Linked DNA regions of Homo sapiens: regions 2, 3, 4, 5 and 6 are each linked to region 1. The links are contacts of gene promoters, found by promoter capture Hi-C in blood cells and fetal thymus (Javierre and others, 2016). All regions are on one chromosome and are shown on one strand. Each heading gives the region's core, a stretch centred on a gene start or on the middle of the fragment in contact. The rest is flanking DNA. Distances are from core to core; before and after follow the strand shown.

Region 1 (3,676 bases), core at 463-2,962:
CTGTGATGTAAAATAAAAGAAAAGGCCTTTACTCATGGATAGAGACCTTGAAGTTTAAAAATACATAATTCCTTGATCTGGGGCATTCATTCATTCAACAAATACTTATAAAGCACTCACGAAACCCCTACGCTATAGCATTTGAAAAGAACAGACACTCCCACAATCCCTGTCTTCATGGAATTTGTTTTTGGGGGTATGTGTAAAAATACCAACTTTTGAAATTACAGTATTTCTACAGCCCTACTTGAGTTCAGATAATGTGACAATATGACTGTGTAATAAAGTATTTAATGGGCCCAGTGCGGTGGCTCACACGTGTAATCCCAGCAATTTGGGAGGCCGAGGCAGGCGGATCGCGAGGTCAGCAGTTCGAGACCAGCCTGGCCAACATGATGAAACCCTGTCTCTACTAAAAATACAAAAATTAGCCAGGCATGGTGGCGGGTGCCTGTAATCCCAGCTACTCGGGAGGCTGAGGCAAGAGAATTGCTTGAACCCGGGAGGCAGAAGTTGCAGTGAGCCGAGACTGCGCCATTGTACTCCAGCCTGGGTGACAGAGCGAGACTCTGTCTCAAAAATAAATAAATAAATGAAAGTATTTAATGAAGTATATTATACCATCTATATATAAACAAAGGACCGATTTTCTTTCAAATCATTACTTCTACCTCCATAATTAATATGGTATTCTATTATAATCAACAGCCTACGTTATGTCCCCAGTTATATACTCTTTAAAAAAAGGGGGGGCTGTTCTCTATGACCATTGTAGGAGTTCATCTTGATTTTGCTGTGTTTAGTGATAACATTGTTCTCATGGGGTTATATCTGTTCTATTTTTCACGTTTTATTTAATGAATGATAATTTTTGATATTTAAAATTACAGATTATCTTTTGTGATCTTATTTGAATGTGTGTGGACTTTTTCGTTCCCTAGATTGACTTTTAATTATTTTTTCTGGCTCTGTGATTCCTTTTAACCTTTTGCTTTTATTTTACCTTATTATCGTTTGCCACATTAGATCATTTGTATGACAAGGCAGGATATGAATAAATAATTTTATAATTTAATTCAATATTAATTACAGTTTTTCCATGTAAGAATAATTTGGAATGTTTTAGAAAATTAGCAATTCCTCTGCATTTCTTTTTTCAATTATCATGGCAACATTAAAGGTTTTGTAAAACTAGTACAGAAGTAAACATCTTTAAGTTTACTACTTCTAAAAGAAATATCTATATCCCACTGTTCTGAGTAGAAAGTAAAAATTTGTATGTTAACAATTATTGGAAATGAGATCTTGCTTATGAGTATTCAAATGAACACATCTCATATTCTTGACCTTTGCATCATTAATTCAGAGAGCCAAGTAGCTTGACACTAGAACATATTTAGAGGAGTGACTCATTTTTATGATTCATTTTTCTGTTAATTCAATAAACATTTTCTTGTAGTAGCCTTTATTAGTATATCTTCTAATGTGTTATGTATTTTTAAGCTTTCAACTTCACTTAAATGTCTTGTTTCTTAGCTGTTTCCCTAGTGATTAAAAGTTCCAGTTGTTACTTTCAATCTATAACAGCTGCAAGAACAACTCTTCTTTCCAAGCCAGCTCTCCTAAATTCCCGTTGTTAGAGTTGGTATCTATATTTAGCTAGTGGGATTAAATTGCAAAGGCTTCAAGCTGGGCAAAGCACACTGATCTGCCTTTTTACAGCTAGACCTGTGTGCTGCAAGGAGCTAAGGCCTTCAGTGTCCCCTTCCTTACCCAGGTTTCTCACAGAATGGATTCCCAGCGGGAACTTGCAGAGGAACTGCGGCTTTACCAATCCACCCTTCTTCAGGATGGTCTAAAAGATCTCCTGGATGAGAAAAAATTCATCGATTGCACCCTAAAAGCAGGTGACAAAAGTCTTCCTTGCCACAGATTGATTTTGTCAGCTTGTAGTCCTTACTTCCGTGAGTACTTTTTATCTGAAATTGATGAGGCGAAAAAAAAGGAGGTAGTGCTAGACAATGTGGATCCTGCTATACTTGATTTAATCATCAAATACCTGTACTCTGCCAGTATTGATCTCAATGACGGAAATGTGCAAGATATTTTTGCATTGGCCAGCCGCTTTCAGATCCCCTCAGTGTTTACTGTCTGCGTTTCTTATCTTCAGAAAAGACTTGCTCCTGGTAACTGTCTAGCCATCCTAAGATTAGGACTTCTTCTTGACTGCCCGAGACTCGCCATTTCTGCCCGTGAATTTGTGTCTGATCGCTTTGTACAGATTTGTAAGGAAGAGGACTTTATGCAACTGTCTCCACAGGAACTGATCTCAGTCATTTCAAATGACAGCCTAAATGTAGAAAAAGAAGAAGCAGTATTTGAGGCAGTGATGAAATGGGTGCGAACAGACAAGGAAAACAGGGTTAAAAACCTTAGTGAAGTGTTTGATTGTATCCGTTTTCGCCTTATGACAGAAAAATATTTTAAGGATCATGTTGAGAAAGATGATATAATTAAAAGCAACCCAGACCTCCAGAAAAAAATCAAAGTTCTAAAAGATGCTTTCGCAGGCAAACTCCCAGAACCTAGCAAAAATGCCGCGAAGACTGGGGCTGGTGAGGTGAATGGTGATGTTGGTGATGAAGATTTACTTCCTGGTTACCTGAATGACATTCCCAGGCATGGAATGTTTGTAAAAGACCTCATCCTCTTGGTTAATGACACAGCAGCAGTGGCTTATGACCCCACGGAAAATGAATGCTACCTTACTGCACTGGCTGAGCAGATTCCCAGAAATCATTCCAGCATTGTTACCCAGCAAAATCAGATATATGTGGTAGGAGGACTATATGTGGATGAAGAAAATAAGGATCAACCTCTACAGTCATACTTCTTCCAGGTAAGAAGGACTTTTTGTATATGTAGTTGCTTAAAGGGAAGGCTGTTACTCACCATCCAGTTAGCCAATTTGTGAATTATTCAAGCTGCTTGCATTTTACTCTAATTGATGTCCTATTCCAGTCCCTTGCACTTTTGCTGTATAGAGCGTTGACAGAAAAATATTTGACTGCTTTGTTAATGTGTAATAAAAAGTTTGGTGAATAATGAGGTTCTAATTCATGTTTAATGACTTAAGATGTTCTTTATACTATTTTACCAAAAATGCCTTGTTTATAGATGATCGTGACTGTAATCCCTCAAAGCCCAGTATTTTAGTAAAAACTAAATTTATTTTTTCTTAGCAGAGATGGGCTCTCACTATGTTGCCCCGGCTGGTCTCGAACTCCTGGGCTCAAGCAATACTCCCAGTTTGGCTTCCCAAAGTGCTGGGATTACCGGTGTGAGCCACCACCCCCTGCTGTAAAAACTAAATTTAATCTTGTATACTCTTACCTATTAAAAATAGTTAATGTCTTTCCCCAAATAGTTTCCCTAAATCAAAGTTCTTATCCATTATAAAGAAGTAATAATTGGTCAGATTTTCTTTTTTAATTTCTTTTTCTTCTTCATCTGCTGGCAGCTCTAAATTGGTCAGATTTTCTACCTTCTTCCAAGTTTCCCTGAACTTCATTTGAAGTTCTTGGAGGTAGCACTTCATCTCTTATTTATGGTTACTGCCTAAAATATAATTTTGTTGAAAATGAAAAAAACTTGTATATATATTCCACACACTTTG
Region 2 (3,676 bases), core at 349-2,848, 500 kb after region 1:
CCAAGGATTTTTGGACTCAAGTTTCATATAGTCTAGAGATACTGGTGAGTAGCAGGTGGTTTGTATAGAGAAAAATGGAAAGAAAATGAAACATAAGTAACTGCAATGTAGGTGGAGAGACATCTTTAAATGGTGGGTACTCAATAGAGTGAATGTACCTTCATAGGTTACTTTGTAAACTAATCATGTTCAAAATAAAAGGGACGCTTGCTAAATACCAAATTATGAATCTTTTTAAAAAAACAAAAAATTCTTTCCTAAAACAATCCTTTTTTGGGGCTTGGTGGGGTCAATACTGGGTTTAAGGGAATGGAAGAGTTAGGAAAAGAAAGAAAATAAACTGCAAGGGCTAAAGAGAATCTTATAATTGGTTACATATCAAAAGAAAGATGTTGTCAGTTCCCATTTTTTTTCTTTTTAAGCATCTTATCAGGTACCCTGGGGATTTAGAAGCTATATTTGAAATAGTCCCTGTTCTCCATGAATTTACAGTTTAGTTGGAGAGATGGAACTAATATAACATCAATCTATATAACAGAATATAATTTGTTTTTAAAAATATCATATAGAGAAAGCACTGTAGAACTTCTAAAGGGAAGATGAGCAAATTGAAATATAAAATATGTGTAAGTCCTTCTTTCTGTCCCAGGAAAGCTTCCTGGAGAAGTTAAAAGTTGAATTGCCTCTTGTATAATATAGGCTGTGGTATGGATGAAGATACTGGTTTTTTTTTTTTTTTCCCCCTGAGAAATTGAGTAACTTGCTCAACTACTGAGTGGTAGACTCAGGCCTTGAACCTAGATCTCTTTCCAGAAGCTTTGCCCTTTTCACCAAACCAACGTGTGTTTGAGAATGTGGGGTGTGTAGTGTGTGTACACACGTTTGCTTTTCAAATTATAGTCTAAAATAGAAGTTAGTGTTGAATGGGGGGATTGAGAGGACAGCATACTTTGGTCATGCAAAAAGAAGCTGGAGCATAGTTAGAGGGGTTTTTAATGTGCACATCTAGGTGGCCACTAGGGTAGGCTTTAAACAGTCTTTCTCATCATTCTTTCAAATGTAGAGATTTTCGCCTCTTTTTTTTCTTCCAAACTAATTTGAATGTATTTGTGTTAGAAAATATAGAAAAGAGTCTGCTTTTCTTTGACAGCAAAAAGCTCGGAAAACTTCCACTCCCAGCATATCTTTATTTTTGCATCATTCATTGAGGAGGAAAGAAACATAATATTGCTGTGTGATTTTCAGCAGTCGGACATGGGACATATGACCCATTTGTGTGTTCTTTAGCATGTCTCAAAGGACCAATTTTGACATATATGAAACAAAGAAAAGTTGGTATTTAGAGCCATATTGATTTTTAAAATCCTAGATATTGCTGGATACAGTGGTGTGCGCCTATTCCTGGATACTTGGGAGGCTGAGGCAGGAGGATTGCTTGAGCACAGGAGTTCAAGTGCAACCTGGGCAACACAGCAAGACTTCATCTCTCAAAAAAAATTTTTAAGAAATGTAAAATCCTAGATATTATTACACATTAATCCTTTGGATAGGTAGTTTTTGATTTTTAATTCAGAAAGAATATTGCATAGGAGATCTTCCAGTCATAATCTGGAATAATTAATTAGATTTTACTAGTTTTTTTCGAGAATTCTTTACAATGAAATTCTTAGTAATATGTTTGTCATCCGTTATATTTGGGGATTGAGAAAACAGAATTGTTCTTATATTTATATTTTAATAAATATTTTTGCAAATATGGTGAAATGTTGACATTCTGGTTTTGACATTCATTTGTAAGTATTGTTTGTGTTTCTGGTTAGCTCTCTTAAAAGTACTATCTAGGAAATCTTAGTTTTTATAAGAGAATATAGCCATTAATTTTTTTCTACAGATTAGGCAACAGAAGATTTGTGAAAACAAAATGTATTGATCTCATTTATATTCCCTTGATGAAGGAACACATGCTGGTCTCCGCTCGCTTTCTGTCCACTAGTATGAAATCCTTGTCCCTGCTTCCTTGCTGGTAGGTTTTTAGAAGTTCAGTGAGCAATGCAAATCGCCTGAAGGGTGGAAAATTCCCTTGTCACACAGATGCCCTTATCAGCAGCAACCAGATGGAGCTCTGAGCTGGAACGTTATCGGTGTTAAATTGCTTTTTCTCCCACCCTGAGTAGAGAGGATTAAAGCATTCCTTTAGAAATGGGTGGCAAATGTACAGACTTAGGAATATTAATATTCTTTAACAATTTGCATTTATAAGTAAATACATGGAAATATAATCTCCAAAAAAGTCCATGTTCAAAATTCAGCCAAATCAGTGCAAAATGTTTTGTTTTAAATAAAATAGGATAATAGTCTTTCATGAATTCACTTGCAAAGAGTAAGCTTGAAACTGTTTTTTTTTCTTTTTTTTTTTTTTAAGTGGGAGACAGTATCTCACTATTAGGGTCAAATGCATATTAGGGTCAGTTTTGGTTGTAGAAAATAAAGGTATGTCTAAGTGTATTCATACTGTTGAAGAAAAATACAATTTAAATTATTTCTCAGAGTTGTCATTTATTTTGGCATAATTAATTGGTTCTTTTACTGTTACTGTTTTTGGGTAAATCCTTAGATTCTGCATTAGTTTGATTTTTGAAATGTTGATTTATTAAATATTGCTATTTTGTAAGCTAATAATTGCTAAATACCTTGCAATTTCAGGTCTGTATGAACAGTATTGATGGTTAGCCATATCAGTAGTTACACAGTGTATTTTAATGAAACTAGTTTTAGAAGTCCGTAAGAGAGACTGCTGTTAAATTATATGTGTTGTTCATAGCCATTTCTATATTAGTGATTTTGTTTCTTAATATTGATTTCCAGATACCATCTAACCTCCAATGAATGATAACCATTTCTCTGATAGAAAAATTGGTATGCCTTTGTGTTTTATATGGCAATAACCACCTACACAGTGGCTGACGTTGGAGTAAAAATTCTTTCTTCATATTCATATGCAGGTTTATGAAATATGTTGCAGTTTTTTTTTTTTTCTTAAGGCCTAGTTTTTAGTATGTGCCAAGAGTTGGGACTTTGCAACAATTACACCATGATGTGTGCAATTTTTTGCAGGTGTAAATATGAACATATAAGTAAGGATGGATAAATTGTTCCCTTTGTATTTCTAAATATCAGATAAATATGATTATTACTGATACAACATAAAAACTGCTTTTGCAAAAAATAAAGTTGAAGAACTTTATTTTTTAGGTTGATTCAGACATGTCAATAAAGCAGATTAATAAAGAATCTTCAGTTTAATGACTGAGATATAATGTTTTACTTACAGAACCAATTTAGAACTTGAATTGATTCATCGAGGAGGCAATTTGTGTTCAGGTGGTGCAAGCACAGCTGGCAAAAGGTCTTGTTTAAGTAAGTACTAAATACTGCTAAATTTAAAAAAAATTCTGTCATTTTTGGAAGCATTGACAGGAAAAGTGACATTTTGGTATATTTCAAATTTTGTCTGTTATATATGATCTATTTAGATAGTGATATATACTTTAAATGGCTAATCTTGTACTTGGAAGAATCATATGGATATTTAGCTCTTTCTAGATTATGATTACCTAGCACATAAATGTGATGCTAAGTGACGAGGTTTCAAAATTAAAGCACTGTATGATTCTCA
Region 3 (3,676 bases), core at 418-2,917, 390 kb after region 1:
TCTTGAATTGTTGTTAGATGATATTTTAAAATTTTATCTATACTTTTAATAAATACAGGAGCTGATACAATGAGAATTTGGCCACAGCGATAGCTGAAGACTAAAGGGAAAAAGCCTTATAGTAGTATGTGATTCCTACCTTCTACTTTTACTTTTTTATATTCAATTTTATACCATATGCTTTGTGGTTCCAAACATAGCTCATAATTTTTCATGTCCCAGAAATTTTAGAATTTATCTTTTGAAACAGTCTTTGTAAAGTGGAATCTAAAACCATGTGTTGTATGACATAGGAATGTCTGTAGATGCTCATAATCCCAGACTGCCTTTCCTCCCTGCATATCAAACTACTTATTGAACTATATTGTTTGGATGTCTATAAACACCTCAAACACACAGTGTCCATAGCGAAGACTCATTATTGCTCCATTAATCTGGCTGCTTTTACATTATCTTGTGTGTGTGTGTATGTACATGAGCACATGAATGTGTGTTTTGATTCCACTGTCTAACTATCTAAACAGCTGTGCAGCCTAAAAACCTAGGAGTTGTCTTTGACTTCTTTTTATTCCTTGCAGATATAGCACACATTACCAACTCTGTCCTTCAAATCTTCTGAATATCTTTACATAGCCTCTTCATCACTGCATCTTTTTGCCACCACCATAGTTCAAACCATGGCCATCTCTAAGCCTCTTATCTCTAGTTGTTGTCACTCTCCTTCAGTCACTTTTTACATTACACTTCTTATAATGTTCTCTCTCTTAAAACCCCCTAGTGGCTTTCCATTCTCTTCATGTGAACTCTAAAGTCCTGACGCTGGTTTATAAGACCCTGTAGCCTCATTTGTACCATGCATCCTCTGTATTCTTTCTTCAAGTGATTCTAACCTTTTCTTAGGTACTGCTCCTTCCGCGTATAGCACCATCTGCTCCACCATCACTAGTTTTATCTGGTTAATCCTAATTCCTGCTTTATTTTATAGGCCTCAGTTTAAACTTCACTTCCTCAGGAGAGTCTTTTTTTTTTTTTTGAGATGGAGCCTTGCTCTGTCACTTAGGCTGGAGTGCAGTGGCACAATCTCGGCTCACTGCAACCTCCGCCTCCCGGGTTCAAGTGATTCTCCTGCCTCAGCCTCCTGAGTAGTTGGGATTACAGGTGCCTGCCACCACGCCCAGCTAACTTTGTGTTTTTAGTAGAGGTGGGGGTTTTACCATGTTGGCGAGGCTGGTCTCGAACTCCTGACTTCAGGTGATTCGCCCATTTTGGCCTCCCAAAGTGCTGGGATTACAGGCGTGAGCCACCATGGCCAGCCAAGTCTTTTCTTGAATTGTAGTCTCGCTTTATTTGTTCTTATGAGTCCCTCTACTTTTCCCATTGCAGCCCTTATCACATTCTGCCTTCTTAGATGTTAATCTCCATGAAGACAGAGATCATCTAAATCTTGATTTATTTATCACTTTATTCTCAGAGATTAGTTGAAAACTTGACCCTTAGTAGGTGCTCAATAAATATTTGTTGATGAGTGAATTTAATTTTACACTGAATCATTGCTCTTTATATCTGTAATGAGGAAAGTACCAGTTTGAGTAAAAATAGAAGTCCTAATCATTTTATTTCATTAATGATTCCAAGGCGTTTTTTACAAGAACAGTAGTATTTAAGCAGTGTCATGAAAATAGTGAGTTTGATTAATTATATTCTGCTTATTCATCCTCTGGTTTCAATTATATAGAACAGTGATTCTCAATTTTTAACTTAAAAAAAATCCCAACATTCCTTAGCACTGTTGCATCAATATCAATGGCTCACTAGCTCAGAAGTGGAACAGTAGTTGTCAGTCATGGCCAGGGGTTAGTATAAATAATTTGTAAAAAGCCCCTAGTCCTTACTTCCTCATTGAGTTAGACCCTCTCTCGTCCATTGAGAAGTACTGAAAGAGAGTGTACTTAACTTCAGTGGACCCTGTTCTTAGATATTGTTAAACTTATTTAATATTTGGTAAAATAATTCTGTGGACTGAAACCTAAGTTTAATGTGTGGAAATTAAAAAGTGCAGTAGAGGCCCTCCTGACTGATGAGTATGACAGGTAGATAGGTAGTTGAATAAGTTGGTTAAAGTGAGGAATCATTTAAAAAATATGAGCCGGGTGTGGTGGCACATACTTGTAATCCCAGCTACTGAGGAGGCTGAGGTGGGAAGACTGCTTGAGCCCAGGAGTTTGAGTCCAGCGTGGGCAACATAGTGAGACCCCCATCTTTGAAAAAATATATATATACCTTAAACATTGTATTTTAACTTAAAACACAGAACTGTGTGTTCATTCTCCAGGCTTTTAACTTTGGGCAAAGTATTTTCAGGATATGATTTCCTTGACTGGAGTTCTCGCTCATCTTTTTTATAAATAGCACATCTATAAAGCATCATCTGTGGATCCAATTTTAATCTCTTTAAAATAGAGTTAGAATATAAAGCAATCTGAGTGTAAAATATACTTAGGCTTTTATGATTTTTCTGTCCCAAGGTTTTTTAGCTTTTTTTCCTGGCACTTGTTTTTATTTTATTGTCTCTCAAAAGCATATGATTCAATTTCTGTAATACCTCTCTGTGCTTTCATATGTCATTAGTTCATATACTTTTGATCTAAATTGTGTAATTATGATAAAAAGAACAATTAGCATGAATAGAAACAAAAATTGACTCTAGGTAACCATACGCCCCAGCCTGTGTACAGGGAATGAGCTATGAGCCTTGAGCATTCCATGTATTATGGGTATTAATATGTTTTACAGTGGGAATGGAAACTTCCTAGTCCAGTGAGTCAGTGAAGTTGGAATAGGTTAAAGAGAGTGAATGCATATATACTAATAATTTTTAATGATAAAGATTTCGTACAAGCCTATCCTCCCACCACCCCCAATGATGTATTTAAACTTTGAGGATTTTTTTTTCAAGGCTTAAGAAGTTGGTGTGTGTGTGTGTTTCTTTTTTTTAAATGTGTGTTTTTTATCTTTGAAATATTGTTTGCTAAAGATTGTATTGATGTATTTTTTGCATAGAAGAAAGCAATTAAATGTACATCTCTTGAAATCATACAGATTTGGTTGATAAGATGAAATGAGATTAATCTAGGGATAAAAATTTTTTATTGATTTCAACAGAAAATACTGCATTATATCATTAGAATCAAGAAAATAAGGTTTTATAAACATACAGCTACCTCAGTATCATGTCATATATTGGACATATGGTAATAATTACTATAATGATATACTAAGTACTTTTGTTAATGCTTCATGTAATTCTTTTAAGATGGATGTTTTTATTTTCTACTTTATAAATGAAGAAATTGATTCAGAGAGTGTAAATATTGTGCCTAAAGCCATATAGGTATTAAATGGAAGGCTGGGGTTTGAATTTAGGTATATCTGATTCTAAAGTATATATATTCTGTATTATTGGTTAAGCTTTTTAAAAAAATCTTATGAAATTTTTGGGTTGTGTGTGTCTTTTTTTAGATGAAGAAAATAGTTTACATGTGGTAGTGAACTGTGGAGAAGCATTACTGAAGAATAACACTTACTGGCCTCTTGTTAGTGATTTTATTAATATTCTTTCTCATCAAAGTGTGGCCAAGAGATTTTTGGAGGATCACGGTTTGTTAGTTACATGGAT
Region 4 (3,676 bases), core at 734-3,233, 370 kb after region 1:
TGGCCTCCCAAAGTGCTGGGATTATAGGTATGAGCCACCGTGCCCAGCCCCAGAAAGCTAAACTTTTTATAGTTTATATATTGATCATATTTTCCAAAGGGATAAAAATAGGGTCATTTAGGCATTTGAAAACTTAAGAATTTGAAGTAGAGTTGTTTAGCCAGAGGTATCTACCGTATGTTTCTTTTTTTTTTTTTTGAGATAGGGTCTTGCTCTCTCAGGCTAGAGTGCAGTGATACTTTATATATATATATACACATATATACATATATAATTATATATGTATATGTATATTTATATTATATATTATATAATATATATTATATATTAATAAATTATATATAATATAATATATATGTATATTTATATTTATGTTATAATATACATATAATTATATATGTATGTATACATGTATACATATACGTATATGTGTATATGTATACATATAGGTATATGTGTACATGTATACATATAGGTATATGTATATGTATACATGTATACATATAATATAATTACATATGTATGTATACATACATATGTAATTATATTATATATGTATATGTATATTTATATAATATATAATATGTATTATATATTATACATGCATATTTATATGTATATTATATATACACATATAATATAATTATATATGTATGTATATATACACATATATATTTATATTATATATGTATATTATATACATATATTTATATTATATATGTATATATATTTATCATATTTATATGTAATATGCATGTGTAATAAATAATATACACATTTATATATGTATATTATATACATATATTTATATTGTATATGTATATATATTTATATATATTTGTATATCATATATTTATATATTGTATATTTATGTATATTATATATTTATATATTATATATGTATTATATAATATATATGTAAATATATATTATATATGTAAATATATATTATATATAAAAATATATATATATAAAATAAGGTGTTTGCTTTATGGTTTTAAACTTGTCAAGTCTTGAGTTAGAAAAGTCAGCTGGGTGTGGTGGCCCATAACTGTAATCCCAGCATTTTGGGAGGCCGAGGCGGGCAGATCACCTGAAGTCAGGAGTTTGACACCAGCCTGGCCAACATTGTGAAACCCCATCTCTACTGAAAATACAAAAATTAGCTGAACATGCTGGCACATGCATGTAATCCCAGCTACTCAGGGCACTGAGACAGGAGAACCCCTTGAACCTGGAGGCAGAAGTTGCAGAGCTGAGATTGCACCACTGCACTTCAGCCTGGGTGACAGAGTGAGACTCCATCTCAAAAAAAAGAAAAAAAAAAAGAAAAGTCATGTGATACAACAAAAACGAAATGAAAATTAGTGTCAAGCAATTCAAGGGTTATAAAAATTATGACTGCTTGAGCTAAAAGGGACTATATAATTCATCTTGTCTTTCTTATTTATGGATGAAAAAACTGAATTCCATAGAATTAACTGATTCACTCAGGCTAGTGAATGCCGTCTAGTTAGTGGTAGAGTTGAAATTGGGCACTAGTTCTTCTATCTGCTGGTCTAAGTGTTCTTTCTATAAAGTGGATAAACCATGATTGTCATTACTGTTGCTATGCAGCAAATTTGCCCAAAGCTTTATGTCTTAAAATTACCATTTTATTTTGCTCACAATTTTATGACTTAGGAACGTGAGAATGGCATCTGGGCAGTTCTTACTTTGGTCATCATATGTGGTTGCAGTTAGTTGTTGGCTGCAGCCATAGTCATCTGAGGGCTTCACACTGAGACGGAGATCTAAGATGGCTCACTCATAGGGCTGATAGTTGATGCTGACCATCCGAGAACTCAGCTGGTTGTTGATCAGTATGACGACATGTGGTTTCTCCAGCATGGTGGTCTCAAGTTGGACATCTTACATAGTAGTGACTTACTTCTCCCAGGCCAACAGCCCAAGAGTAGAAGCTGTAGAGCCTTTTCTGAGCTAGTCTTGGAAGGTATGTGGTGTCACTTCATCCTTTTTGTTATAAACGAGTTGCGAAAGTATGTCCAGATTCAGTGGGAGGTGATATAGATCCCACCTCTTGATGGGAAGAATGTCAGAGAATTTGTAAACATGTTTTAAAACTTCCACAACCAGGATATGACATTAGTCATTCTTTTCCCTGGATTCAGTTGATAATCCAATAGTGGGTAGTGATAATAGCTAAATAATGTACCAATAATTTCTTATAAATTTTCTATCTATTTTAGTGGCACTATCTCTTGGGAAAAAATACAACTGATAAAGTAATGCCATTTTAGCCAGTAATGGCTATTACAGAGTTTTAATGAAAATCAAAGCTTTCCTTAAGTATAGTAGTTACTATTGTACATCAAGAGAATAAAAACTTATATTTAGATTATAAGGTTATTTTATTTATTTTGAGACAGAGTCTTACTCTTTTGCCCAGGCTGGAGTGTAGTGGTGTGATCTTGGCTCACTGAACCTCTGCTTCCCAGGTTCAAGTGATTCTCCCGTCTCAGCCTCCCGACTAGCTGTGACTACAGGCGCGTGCCACCACACCCAGCTAATTTTTGTATTTTTAGTAGAGATGGGGTTTTGCCATGTTGGACAGGCTGGTCTTGAACTCCTGACCTCAGGTGATTCACCCACCTTGGCCTCCCAAAGTTCTGGGATTAGAGGCGTGAGCCACCGTGCCCAGCCTGTAAGGTATTTTGGAGAGCTGACTTTTTTTTTTTTTTTTTGAGACGGAGTCTTGCACTGTCGCCCAGGCTGGAGTACAGTGGCGTGATCTTGGCTCACTGCAAGTTCTGCCTCCCAGGTTCACGCCATTCTGCCTCAGCCTCCCGAGTAGCTGGGACTACAGGCACCCGCCACCACACCCGGCTAATTTTTTGTATTTTTAGTAGAGACGGGGTTTTTCCGTGTTAGCCAGGATGGTCTTGATCTCCTGACCTCGTAATCTGCCCTGGCCTCCCAAACTGCTGGGTTTACAGGCGTGAGCCATGGCTCCCAGCCAAGAGTTGACTTTTAACTTTGTAAAGCAGAAGAAAATATACTGAAATTTTATTAGTATTCATTGTAGGTTAAAGAACAAAATATATTTTTGAATTTAATTACTAATGAGGCTATGAAACTACTGTGACTCTTCCGCTAGTCTCTTTTTGGGGTTGTGTATCCTGTTTTAATCTGGTTTGTTTTTTGTTTATTAGTGGAAAACATTATTTTATTAGGACTAATGGCCTACATGGAATAAAAATTCTGTTGGTGGCTAGGCATCATAAGCAAGAAGCAATGTTAATTGAGTTTGCGCGATTTATTTGGAAAGAAAGATAAGAAGTTCCATCAACCCCTTTAAAAATGAATATGATTATTATTTAAAATTTGCTTTTACTTTTGTTCTTCTCAAAGTATTTTTTAACATATATTAAAATGGTCAAAATGCAATAATTATTATAGAATAGAATAGATTAAGGTGAAAATAGATGAAGGGATAAGATAGATGGAAAGAGGTTGATAGAGGAAGAGTACTTAAATATAGATGTTCTTGAACAAATAACTATTTTATGCCATTTAAATATTCATTAAGGCTTTTAATGTCATGTTGCATTTTACTTGGAACTGTAGGCACAAATGACATATTTGCTTTAGTATTTATATTTGAAATATAGTGAAG
Region 5 (3,676 bases), core at 699-3,198, 290 kb after region 1:
ATGACAGAGCGAGACACTGTTTCAGGGGGCGAGGGGAAGAAACTTGAGAGTCTTCGTGAGCATACTCTGGCTGGGGAGGCTGCCTGATTTGCAAATCGTTCTTTGTTCAATTAAACTCAAAAAGAAAAAAACCTTAAAATCTTTACAATATCGATAATGGTTGCATGGGAAATTATCTCTAAACTTAGGTTCTTGCTAAGAACCCCTCAGATCATATTGTTTGGTGTGGGGTTTTTCTGCAATTCTCAGAACTGCTTTTTTTTTTTTTTTAAGCTGCACGTCTCTGCATTTAAAATGTCTCATGTTCCTTTTTTTGGTATTAATTTCTTTATGACTATGAGGAGAAAAATTAGAAATTATTCATTCTGTGTTTAATACTTAGAACAATACTAAGATGTATATAGAAAAGGTTGTATCTCTCCCACAACCTGCTAACTCTCAAATCCTACTCTTCTGAGGTTATCAAGGTTAAAAGCTTTTGACACTTTGCTTCATGCTCATACTAATTTTTTTAGTGGACCTTATATTTTACAACAGTTCTAGGTTTACAGCAAAATTGAGCAGAAGGTACAGAGATTTTCCATATATCCCCTGCCTCCACACAAGCATAGTGCCTTCACCTTTTAAAACATCCCCCACCAGAGTGGTACATTTCTAACAATTTTATTTCCTTCCCTTTCCCCCGCTAAATATAGGATGCATTTTTGTGGAGAAAAGTTTTGTAATCAATAATCTTTTCATTCTCCTCTTTAATATGAAGGATGTTTCTAATTTTTTTAGCTGTAATCATTCTTTGACAAATATTCTTATATATAAATCTTAGTAAACATGTTTATTGATTTCTTCAAGGAAAATTCTTAGAAGGAGCCATACTGGCTCAAGGATTATGCACATTTAAAAAACACTGATAATTGTCAGTTTACATCTACCTGAATGGCTAGTTCTCTGTGTTCAAGTCAATACTAGGTAGTCTTGGTTTTCTTTCTAATCTTAGCCAGTTTGTTAGGTGAAAAATGCTGTCTCGTTGCTTTAAATTGTATTTCTTTGATTAACAATGAAATGAGGTTGGATTTTTTTTTTAGTTTACAGTACATTATTTATTTATTTATTTTTTGTGATGGAGTCTCACTCTTGTCTCCCAGGCTGGAGTGCAGAGTGCAGTGGCGTGATCTTGGCTCACCACAACCTCCACCTTCCAGGTTCCTCAGCTTCCCAAGTAGCTAGGATTATAGGTGCACACCACCATGCCCGGCTAATTTTTGTATTTTTAGTGGAGACGGGGTTTCACCATGTTGGTCAGGCTGGTTTCGAACTCCTGACCTCGGGTGATCCACCTGCTTCGGCCACCCAAAGTGCTGGGATTACAGGCATGAGCTATTGCGCTTGGCCTATTTTTTATAATTTTTAAAAAAATCATTAGCTGGGCATGGTGGCATGTGCTTGTCGTCCTAGTTACTTGGAAGGCTGAGGAGGAAGATCAATTGAGCCCGGGAGTTTCAGGCTGCAGTGAGCTGTGGTTGCACCACTGCATTCCAGTCTGGGCAACAAAGCAAGACCCGATCCCTGAAAAATAGTGTCTTTTTTTTTTTTAAGACAGAGAGACAGTATTGCTCTCCTCTCAGGCTGGAGTACAGTGGCGGTGATCTCAGCTCACTGCAACCTCCACCTCCCGGGTTCAAGCTAGTCTTGTGCCTCAGCCATCCGAGTAGTTGGGATTACAGGCGTGCACCACCATGTGTGGCTAATTTTTGTATTTTTAGTAGAGTCAGGGTTTCACCACTTTGGCCAGTCTGTTGTCGAACTTCTGGCCTCAAGAAATTGACCCGCCTCAGCCTCCCAAAGTGCTGGGATTATGGGCTTGGGCCACCGTGCGAGGCCAATAAAATATCCTTTAACTGTTTTCTATTAGGGTGTTCTCTTTTTACCCTTCTTCTTTGTTTGTAAGAATTCTTGACAAAATTTGTTTGTCTTTTACTTTTTATGTTACTTCTGGCATTCCAAATAGTCATACTTGGGTTTTTCCTTGGCTTGTATATTGAGAGTTCCTCTATGCTTAAATTTGAGAAACATTTACTTTAACTTTTTTTTTTTTTTTTTTTTTTGAGGCAGCGTCTTACTTTGTTGCCCAGGCTGGAGTACAGTGGCACAATTATGCCTCACTGCAGCTTCAACCTGCCAGGCTTAAGCAATCCTCCCACTTCAGCTTCCTGAGCTGGGACTAGAGGCACGTACCTCTATTTCTTATTTATTTTATTTATTTATTTATTTTTTGGAGAGCTGGGGTCTTGCCATGTTGCCCAGGCTGGTCTTGAACTCCTAGACTCAAGCAATGCACCCACCTCAGCCTCCTAAAGTGCTGGGATTAGGCATGAACCACCACTCCTGGCCCCCCACCCCCTTTTTTGAGATGGAGTCTCACTCTTTTGTCAGGCTGGAATGCAGTGGCACAATCTTGGCTCACTGCAGCCTCTGCCTCCCGGTTTCAAATGATTCTTCTGCCCCAGCCCCCTGAGTAGCTGGGACTACAGGTGTGTGCCACTATGTGCAGCTAATTTTTGTATTTTTAGTAGAGACGGGGTTTGACCATGTCGGCCAGGGTGGTCTCAATCTCTTGACCTCCCAAAGTGCAGGGATTACAGGCGTGCGGCACCGTGCCTGGCCCCGTCCCTTATTTTTTAATTTTAAAAAATTAGAAGGGCAGGTGTGGTGGCTCATGCCTGCAATCCCAGCACTTTGGGAGGCCGAGGTGGGCAGATCGCTTGAGATCAGGAGTTCAAGGCCAACATGGTAAAACCCTGTCTCTACTAAAAATAACAAAAATTCGCTGGGCGTGGTGGTACATGCCTGTAATCCCAGCTACTCAGGAGGCTGAGGCAGGAGAATCACTTGAACCTGGGAAGCGGAGGTTGCGGCAAGCTGAGTTCATGCCACTGCACTCCAGCCTGAGCGACAGAGTAAGACTCTGTCTCAAAAAAAAATAAGAATTGAGTGATTAACCAATTTCTTCCAGTTCTTTTTATTTAACCATCTGTTCTTTCCACACTGATTTGCAAGAGCCTTTTCATATAATCTTTAAATATATTCTTCTTTAAGGTTTTCTAGTCTATTGACACATCTGTTACACTATTTTAGTAATTGACATTTTAGTTTTATCTTTTTGCTAATTTGTAAACATTATTGTATATTTGGGGAAAGTGTTTTGCCTTTTGTAACTTATGTATTTTTAAATAACAGAACTTGGTACTGTAGAGTAATGTCAGGATTGGAGTCCATATTATACAGTGTTCTGAAATACATTGTAATTATCTCACAGTATTATTTTGGCGACTTCAATTTGCCACGGGACAAGTTTCTAAAGGAACAGATAAAACTGGATGAAGGCTGGGTACCTTTGGAGATAATGATAAAATTCAACAGGTAACAAGCTTTTAAAAATAATCTTTAGGTTTTCTGTTTACAATGAGTGCTACTGCTGAGTCTTATGTTTTTATATGTACTCTTCAGGTTGAACCGTCTAACAACAGACTTTAATGTAATTGTGGAAGCATTGAGCAAATCCAAGGCAGAACTCATGGAAATCAGTGAAGATAAAACTAAAATCAGAAGGTCTCCAAGCAAACCCCTACCTGAAGTGACTGATGAGTATAAAAATGATGTAAAAAACAGATCTGTTTAT
Region 6 (3,676 bases), core at 419-2,918, 280 kb after region 1:
GGCCGACCCCCCCACCTCCCTCCCGGACGGGGCGGCTGGCCGGGCAGAGGGGCTCCTCACTTCCCAGTAGGGGCGGCCGGGCAGAGGCGCCCCTCACCTCCCAGACGGGGCGGCTGGCCGGGCGGAGGGCTGACCCCCCCACCTCCCTCCCGGACGGGGCGGCTGGCCGGGCAGAGGGGCTCCTCACTTCCCAGTAGGGGCGGCCGGGCAGAGGCGCCCCATCACCTCCCGGACCGGGCGGCTGGCCGGGCGGGGGGCATGACCCCCCCACCTCCCTCCCGGATGGCACGGCTGGCCGGGCGGGGGGCTGACCCCCCACCTCCCTCCCGGATGGGGCGGCTGGCCGGGCGGGGGGGCTGACCCCCCCCACCTCCCTCCCGGACGGGGTGGCTGCCGGGCGGAGACGCTCCTCACTTCCCAGATGGGGTGGCTGCTGGGCGGAGAGGCTCCTCACTTCTCAGACGGGGCAGCTGCCGGGCGAAGGGGCTCCTCACTTCTCAGACGGGGTGGTTGCCAGGCAGAGGGTCTCCTCACTTCTCAGACGGGGCGGCCGGGCAGAGACGCTCCTCACCTCCCAGACGGGGTCTCGGCCGGGCAGAGGCGCTCCTCACATCCCAGATGGGGCGGTGGGGCAGAGGCGCTCCCCACATCTCAGACGATGGGCGGCCGGGCAGAGACGCTCCTCACTTCCTAGATGTGATGGCGGCTGGGAAGAGGCGCTCCTCACTTCCTAGATGGGATGGCGGCCGGGCGGAGACGCTGCTCACTTCCCAGACTGGGCGGCTGGGCAGAGGGGCTCCTCACATCCCAGACGATGGGCGGCCAGGCAGAGACACTCCTCACTTCCCAGACGGGGTGGCGGCCGGGCAGAGGCTGCAATCTCGGCACTTTGGGAGGCCAAGGCAGGTGGCTGGGAGGTGGAGGTTGTAGTGAGCCGAGATCACGCCACTGCACTCCAGCCTGGGCACCATTGAGCACTGAGTGAACGAGACTCCGTCTGCAATCCCGGCACCTCGGGAGGCCGAGGTTGGCGGATCACTCGCGGTTAGGGGCTGGAGACCGGCCCGGCCAACACAGCGAAACCCCGTCTCCACCAAAACCAGTCAGGCGTGGCGGCGCGTGCCTGCAATCGCAGGCACTCGGCAGGCTGAGGCAGGAGAATCAGGCAGGGAGGTTGCAGTGAGCCGAGATGGCAGCAGTACAGTCCAGCTTCGGCTCCGCATGAGAGGGAGACCGTGGGGAGAGGGAGAGGGAGGGGGAGGGGGAGGGGGAGGGGGAGGGGGAGGGGAGGGGGAGAGGGAGAGGGAGAGGGAGAGGGAGAGGGAGAGGTCATTATTTTCAAATAATAAAAAATTTTAATTTTTTCCAATATATTCTTATGAATTGCTCCACTTTGTTATTTGGATTATACACTATCCAAGAAGCTTATTCATTTCTTTTTTGAAATTTATTTATTCTTAATGAATCACTGATATTGGTATGATTTGAAAACTTCTCTCTTATAATTTGCTTCTTGAATACAGAATAATCACTGATTTTGTCATTCATGTTTATGACTTTAGCTTCATATTCTATTAATTTTATCTGTTTTTTTCAGTTCTTAAACTAGGAACTGTAATTTCTTCACATCTTATTAAAATGTTTAAAAATGCCTGCTCAAATTACATTTATAGTGGTTTATTCTCAATTCAACTTCTTTTTAGACAGAAACTCAAAATACTTGTGTCACTTCAGCACCATTGAACACTGGGGAAGTGGAATGGAGGGAGATTTGAAATGGAAGAACAACAGTTGTTTGATGATTTTGGTTAAAATATCTTTTACAAATTTAACAAAACCATATGACCTTATGAACACATTATTAGGATCCCTCCCAGGTCCTTGGAAAGGGCCAATATAATGGAGGGGTCCTGAAGCTTAAACTTTGTTGGCTTCACTGCAAACCCTTCTCTGATCTTGAGTACGTAACACACATCCACTCTTCCTCTTTTTGGACTAAGTGTTTTCCTGTGTTTTGTGTGCTAGATCTTCTTTTTCTCCTCCAGATACATTCTCCACCAGCTCCTTCTCTACCAGGAGGCTGATCTACGCAGAGGAGAGCACTAACAACAGAGTGGGGGAGGGGGGCATTCACTCCAGCCTTCATTCCCCTGGCTCCATTCCTGCAGGGTTGGCATGGCTTGGATGCATCCTCAGGGACCTCTCCGTACAGTCGTCTTTCTCACCAGTGACTAGCTCCTCCTTTCGCTCCGCCACCCTCCCCTTGGGATGGTAATGGAGCCCTCAATATTACTAACTTTGGGGTACCACAGTATCCCTCAGAATTTACTTATGCCCTTCCCACACCTTTGTAAAAAGTAGTTTATTACATTTTCCTGCTGCCAGACGATCATGGTAGCACATACCTGTAATCCCAGCTAGTCAGGAGGCTGAGGAGGGAGGATCCATAGAGCCCAAGAGTTTGAGACCCCATCTCAAAAAAAAAAAAAATCTTGCTGAGACTCTGATACAGTTTGTAACATCAACCTTGTGTAGGCAGTAACTTCACTGTACATTTAACTTCCTCTAAAATCATTTTTAATTACTGTCTTTATTTTCAAGGGATCAGCATAGTCTTACCCCTAAGGTGGATATGATCAAAGGAGAATTATCTTCTATCTGCTTAGTACCTGGATTTTTTATGTGGCTATTTTCATTTCTTTAAAAAAATCTCATTCTAGGCAGGGCACAGTAGCTCACACCTGTAATCCCAGCACTTTGGAAGACCAAGGTGGGAGGATTGCTTGAGGCCAGGAGTTCATGACCAGCCTGAGCAATACAGTGAGACTCTGTCTCTACAAAAGAATTTAAAAATTATCTGGGTATGTGTGGTAGCATGAGCCTTGTAGTCCCAGCTACTCTGGAGGCTAACTAAGATGGGAGGATCACCTGAGCCCAGGAGTTCAAGGCTGCAGGAAGCCATGATCATACCACTGCACTCCAACCTGGGCAACAGAGCTAGACCTTGTTTCAAAAAAAAAAAAAAAGCTATTTTTTAAAATTTGGATAACCATTCTAGAATTAGAATTAGACGTGGTAACAATCTTTTCAACAAATTTTGCTGGAGCAATTATTGTTCATCCATATAGAAAAAGAAGGAACTTTGCCATCTGCCTTATATTATGCCCCAAAATTAATTTAACATGAATCATACAACTAAATGTGAAAATAAAACAATACAGATTCTAAAAGAAATTAGGGGAGAATATCTCTGAACATTTGGAGTAGGCAATGATTTTTTAAATGCAACATAAAAAGCACTAATTATCCAAAGATACCAATAGGAGAGTGAAAAAGAAAGCCGTAGACTGGGGGGAAGAAATCCACAATTCCTACATCTGATGTAACCTTCATATCCAGATTCATATAAAGAATCCTAATTGATAAAATTGGAAGAATTGATAAAATTGGTAATCCTAATTGATAAAATTGGAAGCATCCTAATTTATAAAAATCCTAATTGATAAAATTGGTAAAAATTAATTAAAAACACACACTTTTTTTTTTTAAGAGACACATCTGGCTAATTTTTAAATTATTTTTTGTAGATTCAAGGTCTGGGTCTCACTATGTTGCCCGGGCTGGTCTCAAACTCCTGGCCTCCCAAAGTGCTGGGATTACAGTCGTGAGCCACCGC

Evidence for each region. Contacts are between HindIII fragments. The CHiCAGO score rates a contact against its expected background, and 5 or more counts as called.
Region 2: a fragment that was not itself captured here is called in contact with the fragment with the promoter of KLHL41 in region 1 in 1 of 17 cell types (non-activated CD4 T cells); the score reaches 5.8 in non-activated CD4 T cells.
Region 3: a contact is called between a fragment that was not itself captured here and the fragment with the promoter of KLHL41 in region 1, in 4 of 17 cell types (total B cells, erythroblasts, total CD4 T cells and 1 more). The highest score is 8.0, in total B cells.
Region 4: a fragment that was not itself captured here is called in contact with the fragment with the promoter of KLHL41 in region 1 in 3 of 17 cell types (fetal thymus, activated CD4 T cells and naive CD4 T cells); the score reaches 6.9 in fetal thymus.
Region 5: a fragment that was not itself captured here is called in contact with the fragment with the promoter of KLHL41 in region 1 in 1 of 17 cell types (endothelial precursors); the score reaches 5.2 in endothelial precursors.
Region 6: a contact is called between a fragment that was not itself captured here and the fragment with the promoter of KLHL41 in region 1, in 1 of 17 cell types (erythroblasts). The highest score is 5.5, in erythroblasts.

Annotation. Positions count from the first base shown.
Region 1 is chr2:169,507,990-169,511,665 of GRCh38, forward strand. It overlaps KLHL41 (kelch like family member 41), which reads left to right and starts at 1,713. Exons shown (of 6, transcript NM_006063.3): 1 at 1,713-2,899. The coding sequence starts at 1,790. The HindIII fragment of the contact is 4,398 bases long and covers 1,502-3,676 here.
Region 2 is chr2:170,011,950-170,015,625 of GRCh38, forward strand. It overlaps UBR3 (ubiquitin protein ligase E3 component n-recognin 3), which reads left to right. Exons shown (of 39, transcript NM_172070.4): 30 at 3,332-3,417. Among named protein-coding and RNA genes, the nearest start is that of MYO3B, 160 kb to the right of the region's middle. RefSeq lists an enhancer at 1,148-2,706. The HindIII fragment of the contact is 1,569 bases long and covers 815-2,383 here.
Region 3 is chr2:169,901,595-169,905,270 of GRCh38, forward strand. UBR3 (ubiquitin protein ligase E3 component n-recognin 3) reads left to right here. Exons shown (of 39, transcript NM_172070.4): 9 at 3,520-3,676. Among named protein-coding and RNA genes, the nearest start is that of UBR3, 76 kb to the left of the region's middle. The HindIII fragment of the contact is 3,598 bases long and covers 1-3,466 here.
Region 4 is chr2:169,881,430-169,885,105 of GRCh38, forward strand. All of the region lies in intron 5 of UBR3 (ubiquitin protein ligase E3 component n-recognin 3), which reads left to right. Among named protein-coding and RNA genes, the nearest start is that of UBR3, 56 kb to the left of the region's middle. The HindIII fragment of the contact is 707 bases long and covers 1,631-2,337 here.
Region 5 is chr2:169,802,161-169,805,836 of GRCh38, forward strand. It overlaps SSB (small RNA binding exonuclease protection factor La), which reads left to right. Exons shown (of 12, transcript NM_003142.5): 3 at 3,314-3,417; 4 at 3,505-3,676. Among named protein-coding and RNA genes, the nearest start is that of SSB, 5.1 kb to the left of the region's middle. The HindIII fragment of the contact is 2,950 bases long and covers 474-3,423 here.
Region 6 is chr2:169,786,113-169,789,788 of GRCh38, forward strand. No RefSeq gene overlaps it. Among named protein-coding and RNA genes, the nearest start is that of SSB, 11 kb to the right of the region's middle. RefSeq lists an enhancer at 3,412-3,676. The HindIII fragment of the contact is 492 bases long and covers 1,423-1,914 here.